Linked DNA regions of Homo sapiens: region 1 is linked to region 2. The links are contacts of gene promoters, found by promoter capture Hi-C in blood cells and fetal thymus (Javierre and others, 2016). All regions are on one chromosome and are shown on one strand. Each heading gives the region's core, a stretch centred on a gene start or on the middle of the fragment in contact. The rest is flanking DNA. Distances are from core to core; before and after follow the strand shown. Region 1 overlaps STX1B (syntaxin 1B). Region 2 holds the start of PRSS36 (serine protease 36).

Evidence for each region. Contacts are between HindIII fragments. The CHiCAGO score rates a contact against its expected background, and 5 or more counts as called.
Region 1: a contact is called between a fragment that was not itself captured here and the fragment with the promoter of PRSS36 in region 2, in 15 of 17 cell types (monocytes, neutrophils, M0 macrophages and 12 more). The highest score is 11.7, in monocytes.

What each region holds. Positions count from the first base shown.
Region 1 is chr16:30,999,480-31,005,483 of GRCh38, reverse strand. It overlaps STX1B (syntaxin 1B), which reads left to right. Exons shown (of 10, transcript NM_052874.5): 2 at 3,881-3,955; 3 at 4,291-4,390; 4 at 4,482-4,556. Among named protein-coding and RNA genes, the nearest start is that of STX1B, 8.2 kb to the left of the region's middle. RefSeq lists enhancers at 3,996-4,496, 4,497-4,997. The HindIII fragment of the contact is 2,126 bases long and covers 640-2,765 here.
Region 2 is chr16:31,146,514-31,153,125 of GRCh38, reverse strand. PRSS36 (serine protease 36) reads left to right here and starts at 3,060. Exons shown (of 15, transcript NM_173502.5): 1 at 3,060-3,127; 2 at 3,395-3,430; 3 at 3,628-3,663; 4 at 3,891-4,053; 5 at 4,451-4,731. The coding sequence starts at 3,091. RefSeq lists enhancers at 2,816-3,352, 3,353-3,888, 3,889-4,426. The HindIII fragment of the contact is 9,446 bases long and covers 1-5,597 here.

The DNA of each region.
Region 1 (6,004 bases), core at 453-2,952, 150 kb after region 2:
AAAAAAAAAAAAAGGAAAAAGAAAAAAAAAGAAATGCAAAGCACTTGTAATAGGACCCAACTCGTGGTAATCAGCACATATATGTTACATCCTCGATTTGCACATGAGGCAACTGAGGCTTGAATCGTTCACCTGTAACCTGAGGCCACCATAAAGTAGACTGGGGCACATTTGATCATCTTTTCCTAGGTAGTCTGGTTTGCCCACAGCCTGCTTTCTTTTTGGCTGGCCTAACTTCTTCCAGAAATGGATGCTGTACTCATTACTAAATATGCATCACTCAGAGCACGGAGGGCCCTTCAGAGCAGGGTGGGCACTTGCACCAGTCTGCTCATTTCAGTGATGAGGGAACTGGGGCCCAGGGAGGAGTCTAAGTTTGCCTGGGGTCACACAGCAAGACAGACGGAGGCTGGGAGGGATGGCCTCCTGTCCAAGCTCTTCCTGCAGCCCTGGGCCCCTCCTACTGATTTTCTGTCCTGGCTGCAGGAGTTCAGCAGTCCTGAGGACATGGCAGAGTGGGCTTTTTAGGACCAGGAGGGACTGCCATCTGTCAGCAGGACAGAAGGGAGAGAGCCTGACATTTAGTGCCAGACAGTCCTGGGTTCAGGTCCTACCTCTGGCCTCATTTGCTGTGAAGCTTTAGGCAGGTCAGGCAACCTCTCTGAGCCTGTTTCCTTGTCTGTAACATGGAATCAGCCGGTGGTAGGCATTGTTACCACTCAGCAAATGCAGAGACTAGGCTCAGGGGTAGAGCCAAATGGTCTTCTAACAGCTGACCTGGGGCAAGTTCTTTTTTTTTTTTTTTTAAGAAACGGGGTCTTGCTCTGTCACCCAGGCTGGAGTGCAGTGGCACAATCACAGCTCACTGCAGTCTCTTGACCTCCTGAGCTCCGGGGATCCTCCTACCTCACCCTCCCAAGTAGCTGAGACTACAGGTGCGCACCACCATGCCCAGCTAATTTTTGTATTTTTTGTAGAGACATGATCTTGCTATGTTGCCCAGGCTGGTCTTGAACTCCTGGGTTCAAGTGATCCTCCCACCAGAGCCTCCCAAAGTGCTGGGATTACAGGCGTGAGCCACTACAACTGGCCTGAGTTATTTAGCTCTATGCCTCAGTTTCCCCATCTATAAAAGGGGGCTATAATAATACCTCCAAGGGGACTGTTGTAAGAATGAAATGGATAGATATATGTGGAGCACATAGAACAGTGCCTGGCACATTGTAAAACATCATCTAAATATTTGCATAAGTATAATTATGTTGGCCAATGGTCCTTACAGAGTCCTAATGAAGATTAAATGAGATAACAAGAATGTAAGACTTACGCAAAAAATACCATCAAGTGCTCTTGTTTTGCTAGGTTGTCCGGACACAGAGCCTTCCCCAGATTGGGACTTAGCAGGCGCTCACTGAGAGGGAAAGTAACTGGGAGCGGAAAGTCAGTGGGGGAGGTAGCCCAGTCTGGAGCCTAACAGCGGTCTTTGAGGGGCTGGATGCCCATGGTTTTCTGGCCCTATGTGGCCTGGGTGCCCTTGGGCAAGTCACTCTCCTTTTACCCCCCTGGCTTCCTGTTCCCTCATCTGTGAAATGGGGACGATGATGTTTATGCAGCTTTTCTCTCAGGGCTGGTGGTGCTGAGGATCAAAACGGATTATGGATGTAAAAGTGTTTGTAAATGGTAGAGGATTATTAGCTCCCAGCTCTCTTTGTATTTATTATACCAAATAAACCACACTTGGGCCTTCTATCATTCTTCCTGTCTTGAGGGCAAACAAATAGGTAGCCCAGGGTGCTCCAGAGATGAACCTAAGGGAGGTGGCTCCAAGAACAACAGGAGAGATTGAAATTAGATTTTAGGAAAGACTTCCTAACATTAGCATGGGGAAGGGAGAGACACAGAGAACAGGAAAGTCCTCAGGCACCCGGGCCAGGGAGAGGCCGCATGACCTGCGTGAGGCTGGTGGCTGAGTGAGTGGTTGAAGGGAGAGAAAGGGCAGAGGAAGGCTTTTGGCTCTAGGGGAAGGAGGCCTTGTAGCACAGCTGGATTTTGAGGACAGAGAAAGTGAAGAGCATCATGGTAGGCCGATGGGTCCTCAGAGGTGAGCCCAGCATCCCAGAGCCTCTCAGGGTCCCCAACTTATGCCACCTGTGCCGCCCCACTTTCTGGGGGCAGCTGTGAGCCAAGACAGAGGAAACTCCCTTTCCAGGCGGATGGTTGGGATTGTCTGGAAATTCAACACAAGTGCTGAACACATTTTCCGACACAGTGTGGGCCCAGCGTCTGTGTGAAGACTCCCTGGAGTTCCATTTGGGCTGGGCTTAGCAGGGAGGCTGGGGTGGCTCAGGAGCGTGGAGCTGGAGGCCCCCCAGGCTGTGCTGGCTTTTCCTGGGGCTGTGGGGCACTGCTGATCCTGAGTTTTGGCTGTGTGGACTGCACCTAGGTCCCATCTGGCCCTGTCTAGGTTCAATCTGAGCTGTCTGGGATCTGTCTGGGATCCGTGTGAGCCTCGGCTAGTTCAGTCTGAGCCTGTCTGGTTTCTGTTAGGCCCTGTCTGCGTTCCGCTGGGACCCTGGCAAGCTCTTCTTTTTGGATTCCAACTGAGTACACCCCCAGGTGGATGCTGTTTGGATCCTGTCTTGATTTCACCCAGCCTCTGGGGTTTGGATTCTGTCTGAGCTCTGGCTGGGTTCTTTTTGGAAATCAGAATGAACTCTGTATACATTTCCACTGGGGCTGATCAGGGCTCCAGATGTCATTAAGCTTGATGGACTCAGATTTTGCTGTCAGACCTCTGTCCCAAGCAGAGAAGGACTCAGGTGTGTGTAGCACAGGGCACCTCCCCTACAGCCTCTCCTGTCCAGCTCTGAGTGTGTGTGCAGACATGAGGCTCGGAGAAGCTGGAAGAACAAGCCCAGTGAGCCCTCCCAAATGTCCTCAGGGGTGCAGCTGAAAGCCAGTGTGTCCACACATGTCAGTGCGGCTCAGCTGTGAGTCTGCGTGCGGGTGAACGCCAGCATCAGTGCATCTCCGTGTGGGTGTCGGGGGGGCCTATTCCTGTGTGCCTTGGGTGTCAGCTCTTCTGTCTGTGTCTCGAGTCTGTCTGTCGGTGGCAGTGGTGCTGTGGGTGGGTAAATCTCTTTGTGTCTCTGAGCCCTGCGGGTGGAGGGTTGAGCAGCTGCAGGTTGCAACTGGGAAATCCAAGCCAGCAAGAGTAGGTGGGTGTGAAGTTGGAAGGGGCTGGATGAAAGCAAGTGAATCCACTGCGAGGGAGAGCCGGCTGGGAGGGGAGGGAGAGTGGGCGGGAAGAGGGGGGCACAGGGCGCGAGGGAGGTCGGGGTGCTGCCCGTATCTCTTATCCAGCCCTCACTGCTTGCTCAACTTGGCGCCTGCCGCTGGCAGTGAAGTGACCTTGCACAGGGGACATGTCTGGTCAGGTGGGGCAGGAGAGGAAGAGAAGGAGTAAAGTGAGATCTGGGCAGGAGAGCAGGAACAGTAGGGAGATCCAGGCTCCCGGGACTCTAGTCCAGGACCCTTCATGGAGCCCAGGGTCAGTTACTGCAAGCCTGACGTTGAGCCGTTGTTGAAATATTGAAATCATCCCTATTGGCTGGTCAAGGCTGGCTCTGCGCCCCCAAGGCCACATCCACCCTGAGAGGGGGTCTTTTTCCAATTCCTTCTAAGGAATCCTTTGGGCTGACAAACACTTTTGGTGCCTTTGCCATCTACCCTGCATGGGACCCCTCCCAGGACCCCTCCTCTGAGCCTAGAGCTGGGAGCACCTGTGTGTGCATAGCAGGGAGAGGGTGGGAGAGCTGGAGAGCCAGCCTTGGGGACCCAGGTAGGGCCTGCTCATGGACTCAGCCTTCCTTGTCCCCAGGCGAAAGACAGTGATGATGAAGAGGAGGTGGTCCACGTGGATCGGGACCACTTCATGGATGAGTTCTTTGAACAGGTAATGGGCCTCCAAGGCCCCCAGCCCCAGCCCCAGCCCCAGCACCCAGCCCCAGCCCCTAGTCCCACCGCCCAGCCTCAGCCCCGGCACCCAGCCCCAGCCCCAGCACCCAGCCCCAGCCCCTAGTCCCACCGCCCAGCCGCAGCCCCGGCACCCAGCCCCTAGCCACCGACAACTTCCTTTTCCCTGTCCCCCACTTCCCTGCTCCTGCACCCTCCCTGGCCTTTTATCAGCCGTTCTGGGGCTGGTCCATTCCCCTGAACCCTGGCTGGTTCCCCTGGAACCCGTTGTTTGGCCTGACAGCTTGGCTGGGTATAGCCGATTTTCTGCTCCAGGTGGAAGAGATCCGGGGCTGCATTGAGAAACTGTCGGAGGATGTGGAGCAGGTGAAAAAACAGCATAGCGCCATCCTGGCCGCACCCAACCCAGATGAGAGTGAGTGTGGCTGCCGGTGACTGTGGGGTGGGAGGAGAAGGGGCCTGGGGTTCCCACCCAGACATCTCACTTGCCCTCGCCCTCCCCTCAGAGACCAAACAGGAGCTGGAGGATCTCACTGCAGACATCAAGAAGACGGCCAACAAGGTTCGGTCCAAATTGAAAGGTGAGGAGTACAATCCCTCAACCAGGAAGGAAAAGAATTGTGGGTGGAGCATGGTGGCTCAGGCCTTTGGGAGGGCGAGGCGGGGCCAATTGCTCAATCCCAGGAGTTCAACACCAGCCTGGGCAACATGGCAAAACTCTGTCTCTACAAAAAATACAAAAATTAGCTGGGCCAGTTTGGGAGGCCGAGGCGGGTGAATCACGAGGTCCGGAGTTCAAGACCAGCCTGGCCAAGATGGTGAAACCCCATCTCTACTAAAAGCACAAAAATTAGCTGGGTGTGGTGGCGGGCGCCTGTAATCCCAGCTACTCAGGAGGCTGAGGCAGAGAATTGCTTGAACCCGGGAGGTGGAGGTTACAGTGAGCTGAGATCGCGCCACTGCACTACAGTCTGGGTGACAGAGAGAGACTCTGTTTCAAAAAAAAAAAATTAGCTGGGCATGGTAGTACGTGCCTCTGTTCCAACTACTTGGGAGGCTGAGGCACAAGAATCGCTTGAGCCCAGGGGGTCGAGGCTGCAGTGAGCCGAGATCATGCTGCTGTACTCCAGCCTGGGTTACAGATAGAGACCCTGTCTCAAACAAAAAAAAAAAAAACAAAAAACAAACAAACAAAAAAAAAGGGACTGGGCGTGGTAGCTCATGCCTATAATCCCAGAACTTTGGGAGGCCAAGGTGGGTGGATCACCTGAGGTTAGGAGTTCAAAATCCTAACCAAATCCTGGCCAAAATGGTGAAACCCCATCTGTACTAAAAATACAAAAATTATCCGGGCATGGTGGCAGGCGCCTGTAATCCCAGCCACTTGGGAGGCTGAGGCAGGGGAATCACTTGAACCCGGGAGGCAGAGGTTGCAGTGAGCCGAGATCGCGCCACTGCACTCCAGCCTGGGTGACAGAGCAAGACTCTTTCTCAAAAAAAAAAAAAAAGAACTTTGCCATCCATTGAGCAAAACAGGCCTTTCTCTAAGGAATTTCTACAAAGTTCCAGGAGCCAGATTATTAAACAGTCAGAAAGCACAAAACCCCAGCTTTCCCCCTTGCTCCAGTTCTTTGGAGAAAGATATATGATAGGAAATGAGGGAAAGGAGACTGTCTAAATTGCATCTGAGCCCTGCTGGTTCCACCAGCATGAAGGTTCACCAGAAAAAGGTGATCTTCCGAGTGGCTTCGATTTCATTAAGTCCTCATCTCTCCTGAGCAGGCCCCCGGCATGGCACAGAGCACCCAGTGGGTGGGCCCAGCAAATGCCTCTGAATCGGTATCCTTGGCTCAGGACAGATTGGACTTGTGTGGCTGACATCAGGGGCTGGCGAGCTTTCAAGAGGGACTTGCCAAATGTTCATTTATTCACTCTAATTTAAGGACTTGGGTGCTGGTAATAACCACCTTCCCCCAAAGCACCGTGGGTTGGGAACCTCCTTGTCTGCTCATACCAGGGAAATAGCAGT
Region 2 (6,612 bases), core at 1,811-4,310:
GTGCACACCACCACACACAGGATCGCGTTATGCTGCCCAGGTTGGTCTAGAACTCCTGGCCTCCAGCAATCCTCCCATCTTGGCCTCCCAAAGCACTAGTACAGGCTTGAGCCACTGCACCTGGCCCCAAAATTTTATTTATTTATTTATTTATTTCGAGACAGAGTCTCACTCTATCACCCAGCCTGGAGTGCAGTGGTGCGATTTCAGCTGAGCACAACCTCCGCCTCCTGGGTTCAAGCCATTCTCCTGTCTCAGCCTCCTGAGTAGCTGGGATTACAGGCACATGCCACCATGCCCAGCTAATTTTTTAATTTTGAGTAGAGATAGGGTTTTACCATGTTGGCCAGGCTGCTGGTCTTGAACTCCTGACCTCATGATCCACCTGCCTCGGCCTCCCAAAGTGCTGGGATTACCAGCATGAGCCACCGCGCCCAGCTCCAAAATGTTTATTAACCACTAAATTGGAGCAAGCAATGTATCGGTGAGGGTCTCCAGGGCGTGCATGTTTTGCGTCAATGACACTTGCACTCTCTTCTTTCCTACCTTTGCCCATTACCTCATTTTTCTGAGTTTTGGTTAAATGATTGGTTATTTATCCTTTGAAGGGCAAATAGCTACCCAAGCAGCAAGTTAAACAAATGCCTGAGGAGGCTCTCATTGTTAAGAAATCTGAAGTTAAGACTCAATTTACCTCCATCGTTTCCTGTGGACAGGCTAAGGCTAGCAGGTTTATCAATTGAGCCCAGTCCGTTGCTGGGTGGCTGAATTTGCATTTTCCCTCTTCCTGCTCACTTCTCATTTTCCCTCAATCTTGCCACCCTGGGATTGCACCTCCCAATTAAGCACAAGCATGCAGGCTTTGCCTAGGCCTGTTTTCTAGGGCAACTAGACTCATAGACCAATATTATTATTAATTGATATTATCAGTAAGAAGATAGATACACATGTGTAAATATTCCTGGGTTGACCCTGCATTTCTGCTGTCCACCCTGATTTGTTCCCTAAGAGTGACCTTTATGGACCATATAATGGTCTCCCTTGAACTCTGGCCTCTGGGAGGTTTCAATGAAAAGAGCCAGGGGGTGATCAGAGGATGGGAGGATCCCAGCACTTTTGGAAGACTGAGGCAGCAAGATCGCTTGAGACAGGAGTTTGAGACCAGCCTGGGCAACATAATAAGACCCCATCTCTACAAAAATAAAAAACATTAGCTGGGTATGGTGGTGCGTGCCTGTAGTCCCAGCTTCTCAGGAGGCTGAGGCCAGAGGATCGCTTAAGCCCAGGAATTCGAGGTTACAGTGAGCTATAATCACAGCACTGCACTCCAGCCTGGGTGACAGAGTGAGACCGTGTCTCTAAAATTTTTTAATTGGTTTAATTAAAAATAGAGAGGATGAGATGAGAGTGAGATGGGGATTTTTCTTTCCCCACTCCCTCTCTGCTGGTAAAGGCTGCATTTCTCTATTGAAGGCCACGGCTCCTAACAGCTATCTCTTCCATAGCTGCAGCTCTTGCTGGGTTCCAGTAACTGCCCCCTCTCTGCCTCTTCAGGCCAGCAGGTAGCAAGGGCTCTCTATTATTGCTGGCCCCAGGATGCGTTACCATCCCTCTTTGGTTTCCTTTTTTTTTTTTTTTTTGTGAGACGGAGTTCGCTCTTGTCACCCAGGCTAGAGTGCAACGGCGCTATCTTGGCTCACTGCAACCTCCACGTCCTGGGTTCAAGCATTTTTATCTGCCTCAGCCTCCCTAATAGGTGGGATTACAGGTGAGTTCCACCACACTCGGCTAATTTTTGTATTTTTAGTATAGATGGGGCTTCTCCAAGTTAGCCAGGCTGGTCTTGAACTCCTGACCTCAGGTGATCTGCCCGCCTCGGCCTACCAAAGTGCTGGGATTACAGCCGTGAGCCACCCAGCCTCTTTGGTTTCCTTTGACCCTGCCTACACTTCTATAAATAGTTTCTTCCTTAAACTCTCTTCAACTCCTCTTTGAAGAGCCATATGTTTCTTTCTTCTTCTTATTCTTCTTTTTTTTTTTCTTTTTGTTGTTGTTGTTGAGACAGGGTCTCGCTTTGTCACCCAGGCTGGAGTGCAGTGGCACAATCATAGCTCACTGCAACCTCGACCTCCCAGGCTCAAGCAATCCTCCCACCTCATCTCCCGAGTAGCTGGGATACAGACGTGCACCACCACGCCCTGCAGTTCATAATTTTTGTATTTTTTAATTTTTTGTAGAGATGGGGTCTTGCTATGTTGACCAGGCTGGTCTTGAACTCCTAGCCTCAAGCAATCCTCCCACCTCAGTCTCCCAGAGTGTTAGGATCACAGGAGTGAGCCACCGTGCTCGGCCAAGTCATATGTCCCTTAAACTGGCTCTTACTGATACACACCAAGAGGTTGGGTTACTTTCCCAAAGTCACACAGAGTAAGTGACAGGGCAGCTAAGAGCATTGTCACTGGAACACAGAGCAGGGTGGAGGCTTTTTCAGCCTCGCCAGCCTGCCCAGCCCCCTCCCAGGGTCCCTATGCCCTGCCCAACCTGCTGGAATCTGTGATCCTTTTGTTGGGATGGGATTGAATTCCCTAGGGCTCCTGTCCCAGACCTGGCCAGCAGCTCCAGTAACCAGAGCTGTGTGAGAAGAAAAGGCCAAGCCACTGGGGCAGCCGCACCCCAAACAGAGGTGAGGTCTCCGATGAGTCATGCCCGTGAGGGGCCACTTCCCCTGTCCTAAGGGCCACTGCTCACCAAGGACACAGAACACTGTCCTCCTCTTTGACCTTTGCCTGCAGTGTTTTTCATCCCTCCCTCTCCCACCCAACAGGTGTCCAGGAGCTAGGACACCTGTCCTCCACCCCCACCCTGGGCCTCCAGAGACATGAGATGTGCGCAGGGCTCTGGGTGGGGCCTTCAGGCTCCCCAGCTTCCCCCTTCCAGCCCCAGATCCTCTCAGATTCCCAGAGATGGGCTCCAGCCAGGGAGGGTGGGGCTGCCCCTGGGACCATCAGGAGTCACGGGCTGCCTGGGCAGTGACAGAGCCCTGCAGGGAGCAGACCTTCACTTGGCTCTGCCTCCGCTGACTCTAGCGCCATGGCCCGGCACCTGCTCCTCCCCCTTGTGATGCTTGGTAACCTCAGGGGACAAGAGTGGCTGCAAAGGGCCTGGGTCCTGGCATCTGGGGGGCTGGAGAGCAGGATTCCTGGTTTCTGTGTGGGGAGCAGGAAGTCAGAGAGAAGGAAGTGAGGCAGCAGAAGGCGAGGATGTATCAGAGGAGGGAGAGGGAGGCCTGGGTGCCCTGGGGAGACGGAGGCTAGGAGGCTGGGGGAGGGAGTCAGGGAGGGCACATACTGAGTGCGAGTCGCCAGCCTCTTCCTGCCTACCTCTGTCTTTCCAGTCATCAGTCCCATCCCAGGAGCCTTCCAGGACTCAGGTAAGGTAGCCGGACTGGGGGAAAGTCACGTGCAGAGGCAGAAAAGACCAGAGGACTGGCATGGGTGCTGGCAGGGGTTGCTGAACGGACAGGGAAGTGGGAAGATAGGGTCGGGGGTTGGAGAGCAGGAAGTGGGGCTGGGCGGTGCAGGCCTGGAAGTCACAAGTGTCCTCCTCTCTTTCCCCTCTGGCTCCCAGCTCTCAGTCCTACCCAGGAAGAACCTGAAGATCTGGGTAAGGAAGAGGCCTTGGCACCCTCAGACCTTAAAGGAGGCTAAGGCTGGTCAGGCCATGAGGGAGGTGGAAAAGACCAGAAATGTAGACAAGCCTGGGTCCTCTATGTTCTTTGTTCAGAGGGGCAAACTGAAGTGGGTGGAGGACGGGCCTTCGTCCTGAGTTACCTGGGCTTCTGGAGTGGGGAACCCGAGGGGAGCTTTGGCTTCCACGGCTCCCCGTTGCAGACTGCGGGCGCCCTGAGCCCTCGGCCCGCATCGTGGGGGGCTCAAACGCGCAGCCGGGCACCTGGCCTTGGCAAGTGAGCCTGCACCATGGAGGTGGCCACATCTGCGGGGGCTCCCTCATCGCCCCCTCCTGGGTCCTCTCCGCTGCTCACTGTTTCATGACGTGAGTATTCGCCCTGGTCCTGGCCCCTCTCCGCCAAAAGCTGGCCCCCGCCCCCGCAGTTGGTCCCCTCCTCCCGCCCCACTTCCGTCCTCAAGGATAATTTGGAGCCAAGCTGTCCCCAAAGCGAGGTGCTATTCGAGGCATCATGGTTCCGAGTGGGGCAAGGCTGCCGGACTGGTCCCACCACTCCACTCAATATCCGGGTCTGAATCCCATCTTTCCAATGACCCCCCCACCACCAGCTCCAAATCGGATTTGCTCTTCCCCTTTGAGGAGTATCAGCACCAAATCTGGATCGGATAGCACCTGCCCCTCTGGCTCTGAGCCCCTGCCCCCAACGAGGGTCTGCCCCCTCCATAGGGTCAACCTAACCTCCTACTGCCCCGGTCGAGCGCAGGAATGGGACGCTGGAGCCCGCGGCCGAGTGGTCGGTACTGCTGGGCGTGCACTCCCAGGACGGGCCCCTGGACGGCGCGCACACCCGCGCAGTGGCCGCCATCGTGGTGCCGGCCAACTACAGCCAAGTGGAGCTGGGCGCCGACCTGGCCCTGCTGCGCCTGGCCTCACCCGCCAGCCTGGGCCCCGCCGTGTGGCCTGTCTGCCTGCCCCGCGCCTCACACCGCTTCGTGCACGGCACCGCCTGCTGGGCCACCGGCTGGGGAGACGTCCAGGAGGCAGGTGAGTGGGACGGGACAAGAGGGGAGGGCCTCGGGGAGGTGGGGCTTCGAGAGGTGAGGTTCCTAGGGCGGGGCCTCAGGAGGTGGGGCCACGGAGCGGAGCCTGCGGGGAGCGTTGGAGGGTAGGTTTCTGCGGGTCGGTGGATGAATCCCACACCGATCTCCATGTAGCCTTCTCCCTGCAAGGATTCTCAAACTAAGACCACGGAATCACCCACACGCACCCCATTCCCTCCTTACCTGTCCTTCCAGTTTTTTCTTTCCTGGGTTTAGGCTCCGACTAGGGTTCCCATCCCAGCTCTAACATGTCAGACAAAGCACTTCACCCAGTACATTTCCTCATCTGTAACACGAGGAAAATAGCCATACCCACTTCAAGGGGTGGTTGAGTGGATTAAATGAGAAAATCCATGTAAAGTTCATAGTACAGTGCCTGGCATAGCAATAACCAATGCACTTTACATATTTCACCTCAGGTAATCTATAGTAAAGCACTACAGCATAAGGCTGGCCTATAATAGATATTCAGCAAATGCCAGTCTGTGCCTCCCTCCCATCCGCCTTCCTCTCATTCCATCCACCCCCACTCATCTCTCTACTCCCCACCTCCTCTCTTCTTCCTACCCACCATCATTCATTCAATCATTCTTTCACTCAAGATATTTCTTGAGCACCTTCTACATGCCAGGCACCGTGTTAGGCATTAGAGAGACACCAGTGAACATAAAAAGCCAAAATCCTGCCTTTTCAGAGTTTACATCCTAGGAGATAGACAAGCAACAAATTCAATAAATAAGCACGCATTATGTTAGAAGGTGGGGGGGAATAGACCAAATCTCCATCCCCATCATCCCCATCACCCAAGCTTTCCATGCTCCCAGGGCCCCCACAAATATCCACATCAGCCGTGGTCAGACCTGTGCCCATCCTCGGGGCTTTGGGTAGGTGCTACAGGGGAAGATGCTACAGCCTCTGCTTGTGGAGGTCCCATCAGGGCAGGAGGTGATGAGGAAGCGTCACTGTGAGCCCCAGGAAGTCTGTGTGAATGGGGCCAGGCCATCCTAACAATGGGCACCCAGAGAGGGAGATTTCTGCAGAGATTTTTGAAGAGAGGGTACATTGCAGGAAGATGGGGGGAGATGAAGGCCACCCTGTGGACCCAGATAAGTCATGTTAGATGAAGAAGGGCCAGGATGCCAGGCTGGAGTGAGAGGGGTACAGGCACCTGGGCTGCAAAGGCTGCTGTGGCCCGGCCATGAAGACCTTAAGATCAGACTGAGGGCCAGAGCACCCCACCAGCTCCAGGGACGCCCAGGACAATCCCCAACTTCCCTGGTGAGCCCCAAGTACAGCTTCAGCCATCACCTGACCTCAAATTCTTTTCTTTTTTTCATCAATTCTTTTTTTCTTTTTGAGACAGAGTTTCACTCTTGTTGCCCAGGCTGGAGTGCAACGGCGCGATCTAGGCTCACTGCAACCTCCGCCTCCCAGCTTCAAGCAGATTCTACTGCCTCAATCTCCCAAGTAGCTGGGATTATAGGCACCCACCACCACGCCCAGCTAATTTTTTGTATTTTTAGTAGAGACAGGGTTTCACTATGTTGGGCAGGCTAGTTTTGAACTCCTAACCTCAGGTGATCCACCTGCCTCGGCCTCCCAAAGTGCTGGAATTACAGGTGTGAGTCACCGCGCCTTTGACCTCAGATTCTGAGTGAGTTGGGGAAGGAGTTCTGTCTGTACTTCCCCCCACCCCCTACTCCTTTCTGGATCCTGAAGCTGTTTCCGTCAAAAGCAGGATGGGCTGCAGCACCAAGTTTAGACAGTGTGATCCGTTTATTTTTCTTGGTGAGATCAGAACTGAACTTGAGTAGCATTCCTCTTC